Linked DNA regions of Homo sapiens: region 2 is linked to region 1. The links are contacts of gene promoters, found by promoter capture Hi-C in human tissues and cell types (Jung and others, 2019). All regions are on one chromosome and are shown on one strand. Each heading gives the region's core, a stretch centred on a gene start or on the middle of the fragment in contact. The rest is flanking DNA. Distances are from core to core; before and after follow the strand shown.

Evidence for each region. Contacts are between HindIII fragments. The study calls those that stand out against the background at their distance.
Region 2: the fragment with the promoter of PRSS57 here is called in contact with the fragment with the promoter of MISP in region 1 in 1 of the 25 tissues and cell types used here (dorsolateral prefrontal cortex).

Annotation. Positions count from the first base shown.
Region 1 is chr19:748,981-752,416 of GRCh38, reverse strand. MISP (mitotic spindle positioning) reads right to left here and starts at 1,305. Exons shown (of 5, transcript NM_173481.4): 1 at 1,246-1,305. The HindIII fragment of the contact is 28,409 bases long and covers 1-3,436 here.
Region 2 is chr19:693,355-696,976 of GRCh38, reverse strand. It overlaps PRSS57 (serine protease 57), which reads left to right and starts at 1,525. Exons shown (of 5, transcript NM_001308209.2): 1 at 1,525-1,625; 2 at 2,010-2,163. The coding sequence starts at 1,547. The HindIII fragment of the contact is 19,970 bases long and covers 1-3,622 here.

The DNA of each region.
Region 1 (3,436 bases), core at 56-2,555:
AAGTAGCTGGGACTACAGGCGCCCGCCACCACGCCCGGCTAAGTTTTGTATTTTTAGTAGAGATGGGGTTTCACTGTGTCGGCCAAAAAAACCCCTGGATCCACGGCGGCTCTCATGGCCGGCATTCTTGGGCAGCGGCGCTGCCCTCGGGGGAAGAGCCCCAGGACGGAAGATGGCCCCTGCAAGGCCCGGCGGTGGCTAAGGACCTCGGCGTCCTGAGACTCTTCCTGCAACACCTTGGAACCGTTTTCGACTCCGGTTTTCGAGAGAGGGAGCTGGGACCCAGAGAGGAGAACCTGCTCATCTGAGGTCACACAGCGATGACAGAGCAAGTGTCTGAAGCCAGTTTTCAGACTTTGCTCCAAATCACCCCCTCCTACAGGAAGCCCCCTGGGTTGCTCCTCCCAGCCTCACCCTGAACTCTGTTGATACCAGAATGAAACTGGGTTTATGGACCCTGGTGCCACACCTCCTTCCTCATCAGCCAGTTGGCTCTATGTGAGGGGCAAAGGTTCCCTTGTGGGGCCGAGACTCAGACAAGGAGGCCATGCAGAAGGGAGGGCCCCGTTCCTTTTTCCCATCCCTCAGGGTTGCAGTCACCCTTGAGTCATCTCAGCTCCTTGGGCTCCTGGGCGGAGCTCCACCGGCAGACGCTGGGCCGAGTCCCTGCTGGCTGCCCGGGATCCCAGGCTACCACCTCACCCCCACCCGAGGACCCAGGCCAAGTCCCCAGCCCCGGCCTGAGACTCCTTCCGCCTGTACTCAGCCACCCCTCCTCCGTGTCCCCAAACCAGCCCCCAGCCCCACGGGGGTGTTTACTGCCCAGAGCCTCCCAGTCAGGGGCCTGGTGGGACGGATAAGCATCTCTCCAGAAGCCTCTGGAATTCCCAGAACCATGGAGGGGCCCCTCTGGCCTCTGACCATGGGGGTGCCAACCCGGCCCCTCCCTTGGAGGGCTCTGGGATTTGGGGTTCAAAAGCCCCAGCAGAGTTCAGGGACAAGGGCCTCTCTGCTCTCCCAGTGGGTGCCCTTGAGGCCCCAGAGTACCTAGCGGGGGCAGAGGGAAAGGTGCCTCAGGGAGGCTCCGAGGGTGACGGGGTGGGGCAGGGGGCCTCCCTGGATCCCAAGTGCCGCCAGGCAAGCAGACCCCGCCCACAGACACATGACGCTCCCACGCCAAATGTGGATCCAACCGCCCCACACAGGATCCCCGCCCGGCCCGGCCCGGGGCGCCCCCAGCCTCACCTGCCGGCTCCCGGCTCCACAGTCTGCAGCCTCCACTCTGACTCCTCGATGGGCACAGAGGCCTCCCAGCTCCGCCCTGCCCGCCAGGTTGCCAGGGAACAGAGGCCCCACCCAGGGGAGGCAGGTGTGCCCCCTCCCCCCAGCCCCACCTGGGATCAGGAAACAAAGTCCAGAGGAGGAGGAGGGAGAAAGAGGATACCAGGCTGGGCAAGGGCGGGCACCGTGCCCGCTGCCGGCTGCCCCTCCACCCCCAGGGCCTCCAGGTGGCCCCGAGGAGCCAGAACTCAGCCGAAACCTCCCTTGGCTGCCTGGCCCTCCCACCGCCTCTCAGCACCGCTCAGAGAGGGTCAGCAGGTGTCCAGGGCCACACAGCAGCTCAGCGTGCACAGTGGCCTGTGTCTCCTGGGGGGCCGGAGGGGCTGAGTCCCAATCCCGTCCGTGCCTTCTGGCCCAGCCCACCCCTTGGGGCAACTCCCCTAGATGGCCCCCTTCTTGCATAAACCAGGTTTGGCAGACTCGGGGGGGTTTGGTGTGGCCTGGGTTCTGATCCCACCTGACCTCTCTTAGCCCTGTTTTCTCCTCCGGGACGTGGGGGAACATCACGCCCGGGCTCCCTCAGGGCTGCTGGGAGGAATTCCCTAGGCCCCATCCACATAAAAACCCATACGAGGGGGCCGGACTTGGTGGCTCACACCTGTAATCCCAGCACTTTGGGAGGCCGAGGCGGGCGGATCACTTGAGGCCAGGAGTTCGAGACCAGCCTGGCCAACATGGCGAAACCCCGTCTCTACTAAAAATACAAAATTTAGCGGGGTATGGTGGCACGCTATTATAATCCCAGCTACTTGGGAGGCTGAGGCAGAAGAATCACTTGAACCCAGGAGTTGGAGGTTGCAGTGAGCCGAGATCACACCACTGCACTCCAGCCTGGGCGACAAGAGCAAAACTCCAACTCAAAAAAAAAAAAAAAAAAAAAAAAAAAAGAACCGCACGAGGCCGTCAAAAGACCCAGGCCACCCCGAGAGATGGGGACGCAGAGGCCCTCAGGCGCCCATGGTCCTCCTGGATTCTTAGTCAAGGTGCAGAGGCCTTGCTGGGACTGTGGGGAGCCCAGCATCTGTGGGGAAGTCGGGCCACTGGGCCTAGCGCCGTCTATGAGGGCAGGGAACACAGCTGAGGGGGCAGGGACTTCAGTTCCCCAGGCTGGGGCTCTGTCCTGACCTACGCCAGAGGGGCTGCTTGTGGAGCCCCTCTGAACCTCAGTCTCTTCTTCGAGTAAAAAGGCCCCCAGCTACGAATCCAGCAGGGCTGCTCAGGAGGGGGGTGCTTTTTTTGTGTTTTTTTTTTGAGACGGAGTCTCGCTCTTGTCACCCAGGCTGGAGTGCAGTGGCACGATCTCGGCTCACGGCAACCTCCCCTGTTCAAGCAATTCTCCTGCCTCAGCTTCCCTAGTAGCTGGGATTACTGGCATGAGCCACCACGCCCAGCTATTTTTGTATTTTTAGTAGAGACAGGGTTTTGCCACGTTAGCCAGGCTGGTCTCGAACTCCTGACCTCAGGTGATGCCCCCGCCTCAGCCTCCCAAAGTGCTGGGATTACAGGCGCGAGCCACGGCGCCTGGCCAAGATGGGGGTGTTTAAGGACAAATCTGGATAAAGGGCCCCCAAAGGACAGCGTGGCACCTAACGCTGCTGGGTGTGTGAAAGCTCAGGGTGCGCGGCCTCACGGCGCCTCCCACCGCCGCCTCCCGCCACCCCCTTCACGTCCTTTTCTCCCTGGCTTGTAGATAGGGAAACGGAGGTACGGAAAGCTTAAAATCGCGCCTCAGGAATGGCGGGGGTTTAGGCTGGAATTGGAACCTGAGTTCCCTCAGCAGTGCTCTCCACCACACTCACCACCTCATCGGGGAAAACTGAGGCCCCAGCAGGGTGGAGGCTGGATCGCCCATGAGCTGGGGGCACTGTGGAGACGTCCCACGCCCAGGCTGAGGCTGGCCTCCCACTCAGGGCTCCGAAGGCCTATTTTATTTTATTTGAGACAGAGTCTCGCTCTGTCGCCCAGGTTGGAGTGCAGTGGCACGATCTCAGCTCACTGCAGCCTCCGCCTCCCAGGTTCAAGCGATTCTCCTGCCTCAGCCTCCTGAATAGCTAGGATTACAGGCGTGAGCCACCACGCCCGGCTAAGTTTTTGT
Region 2 (3,622 bases), core at 276-2,775, 56 kb after region 1:
GCCCCAGCCTGTTCATTATTAAGCGCTGACGAGCACCCCACTGCTAGCCACTGCCGTGAACGCCATCACCCGGCTGTGTGAGCTGCAATTTACGACCTGAACTTTGCCACTAAGAACGCTCCCACTGAAAGGTGAAGACCTGCCGGGCTGGGCGCGGTGGCTCAGGCCTGTCATCCCAGCACTTTGGGAGGCTGAGGCAGGTGGATCACCTGAGGTCGGGAGTTCGAGACCAGCCTGACCAACATGGAGAAACTCCGTCTCTACTAAACACACAAATTTAGCGGGGCGTGGTGGTGGGCACCTGTAATCCCAGTTACTCAGGAGGCTGAGGAAGGAGAATCCCTTGAACTCAGGAGACAGAGGTTGCGGTGAGCCAAGATCGCGCCACTGCACTCTAGCCTGGGCAACAAGAGCAAGATTCCTTCTCAAAAAAAAAAAAAAAAAAAAAAAGGCCGGGCACCGTGGCTCATGCCTGTAATCCCAGCACTTTGGGAGGCCGAGGCGGGCGGATCATGAGGTCAGGAGATCGAGACCATCCTGGCTAATATGGTGAAACCCCGTCTCTACTAAAAATACAGAAACAAAATTAGCCGGCTGTGGTGGCGGGCGCCTGTAGTTCCAGTTACTCGGGAGGCTGAGGAACGAGAATCACTCGAACCCGGGAGGTAGAGGTTGCGGTGAGCCGAGATGGTGCCATTCCACTCTAGCCTGGGCAACAAGAGCAAGACTCCATCTCAAAAAAAAAAAGAAAAGAAAAAAAAGGTGAAGACCCCCATGTACAGCCATGTCCCACTGGACTCCGGATCCCACAGAACGTCAGTGCTACAGGCTGGGGTGCGGTCACTGCCTCATCCTCACCTCCTAGCATGAGGTCTGGTATACACTAGGCACTCAATAACTGCTGAATAAAGGCAGAAATCTGCCAGGTGCAGTGGCTGTCTTCTGTGATCTCAGCACTTTGGAAGGCCGAGGAGGGAGGATCGCTGGAGCCCAGGAGTTCGAGACCAGCCTGGGCAACATAGCAAAACCCCACCTATAAAAATAAAATAAAATAAAGGCAGAAATCATCAGAGCTTCCCAGGAGACCGGCCTTCCTCGCTGTCCCCACAGCCCTGAGGTCGGCCCTGGGTTTGGAGATGGGAAGACTGGGGTTTGCGGGGTGGGGGCCGGAGGCGAGCTGCGGGTCTCGAGTGCCGCTGTGACCTCGGTTCCTCGGAAAGCTCCCCACACATGCTGGGCCACGTGGAGGCTGGGTAAACTGAGGCACAGAAGGGTCAATTGCCTTCCCGAGGTCACTTGCAGCCCCAGAGCTGTCTCCTCCTCTCCCTGTTTCCGGACTAGGGGACAATGATTATTATCAACATGATTATTACCAGCCACCACCTGAGACCATCGATTTCTCAGAAACGCCCGCCTGGGCTCCAGGCGTTGCTGGTGGGGCCTCCCGACCACAGGCCACAGCCAGGCTCCCCCTTTCCGGCCGTTGGCTGAGGGTGGGAGCCACGGCCCGAAGACCTCTGCGGGGAGACGCCAGCCTGCGTCTGCCATGGGGCTCGGGTTGAGGGGCTGGGGACGTCCTCTGCTGACTGTGGCCACCGCCCTGATGCTGCCCGTGAAGCCCCCCGGTGAGGAGCCCCCCGGGATCCCCACCCAGGCCCCCGCCAAGTCCCCGTACGGGGGCCACACCCGGGAACCCCCAGTCCCGGGAGAACCCTGGGGAGAGCTCCACCTGCTCCATCTGCCGAGCCCCCGTGGCTGCCTCTGCTGGAAATGGATGGAAATCCGGCCGGGGTCTCTGCCCAGCCCAGCCCTGGATCTCCCGGGCTCGGGAGCCCCTCCCAGCGCATCTGGGGGGCTTGTCTGGGCTCTGTCTCCAGCTCTCTGGGTCTCTCCGTCTCTAATCTCACCCCCTGTCTCTGTCTTGGCCGCTACTTCTCCCCCTGCCCTGACCCCAGCCCCGTCATCCGTTCCTCCCGCCTCGTCCCTGACTCAGGCCGTCCCTCCAGCAGGCTCCTGGGGGGCCCAGATCATCGGGGGCCACGAGGTGACCCCCCACTCCAGGCCCTACATGGCATCCGTGCGCTTCGGGGGCCAACATCACTGCGGAGGCTTCCTGCTGCGAGCCCGCTGGGTGGTCTCGGCCGCCCACTGCTTCAGCCACAGGTGAGCTCACCTGTCGGGCCCCTTCTTTCTGGACACCGTATCCCGACATGAGGGGGACTCCAGGCTGGTGGGGGAGCTGGGGGCGCCGTGGCTCCTGCAGGAGGGGGAGTCTCAGCAGGGGCTGGATTTAAAGGGCAACAAAGGGAAAACAGGAGGATAAGGCAGGGAGGCAAAAGAAGCACAGAAGAAGCAACAGGCGCAACAAGTACATATTCTGTTACTGTAACTGTCACTATGTTCTTTTTTTTTTTTGAGGCAGTCTCGGTTCCCCAGGCTGGAGTGCAACGGTGCAATCTCGGCTCACTGCAACCTCCACCTCCCGGGCTCAAGCGATTCTCCTGCCTCAGCTTCCCGAGTAGCTGGGATCACAGGCGCCCACCACCACACCTGGCTAATTTTTGCATTTTTAGTAGAGACTGGATTTCACCATGTTGGCCAGGCTGGTCTCGAACTCCTGACTTCAAATGATCCACCCGCCTCTGCCTCCCAAAGTGCTGGGATTGCAGGTGTGAGCCGCCATGCCCTGCCTCGTTTTAAACATATTGTTATAATAACTATTAAAATGTATATTGGGGCCAGGGTGGGTGGGTCCCCTCCTGCAGGAGCCCCCACCAGGCACGGGATAGGTTGGTCCTGGGCTGCAGTGTCCCCAGCTCCCCCGCCAGCCTGCAGTCCCCCTCACGTTGGGACACGGTGGATTGTTTGAGGTCAGGAGTATGAGACCAGCCTGGCCAACATGGTGAAACTCTGTCTCTACTAAAAATACGAAAATTAGGCTGGGTGCGGTGGCTCATGCCTGTAATCCCAGCACTTTGGGAGGCCGAGGCAGGAGGATCACGAGGTCAGGAGATCGAGACCATCCTGGCTAATACAGTGAAACCCCATCTCTACTAAAAATACAAAAAAATTAGCCGGATGTGGTGGCAGGCGCCTGTAGTCCCAGCTACCCAGGAGGCTGAGGCAGGAGAATGGCGTGAACCCGGGAGGCGGCGCTTTCAGTGAGCCGAGATCGCGCCACTGCACTCCAGCCTGGGGGACAGAGCGAGACTCTGTCTCAAAAAAAAAATACGAAAATTAGTTGGGCATGGTAGCAAGTGGCTGTACGTATCCCCAGCTACTCGGGAGGCTGAGGTAGGAGAATCACTTGAACCCAGGAGGTGGAGGTGGCAGTGAGCCGAGATGGCACCACTGCACTCCAGCCTAGGGGAAAGAGTGAGATTCTGTCGGAAAAAAAAAAGTTAATTGTGGTTTTTGCCATTTAATTTTTTTCGTGCAATTACTTTTGCACCAACCTAATATTATCACGGGGCCGGCGTGAGCATTAAATGGATTACTGGGCCTCCATTTCATAGATGAGTGGACTGAGGCCCAGACGGGCAGCCGTCACCCCCATCTCACCCACCCCCTCCTCCCCGCAGAGTCCTCCGCACCGGAGCTGTGCTTCTGTGGTCCCAGCTAC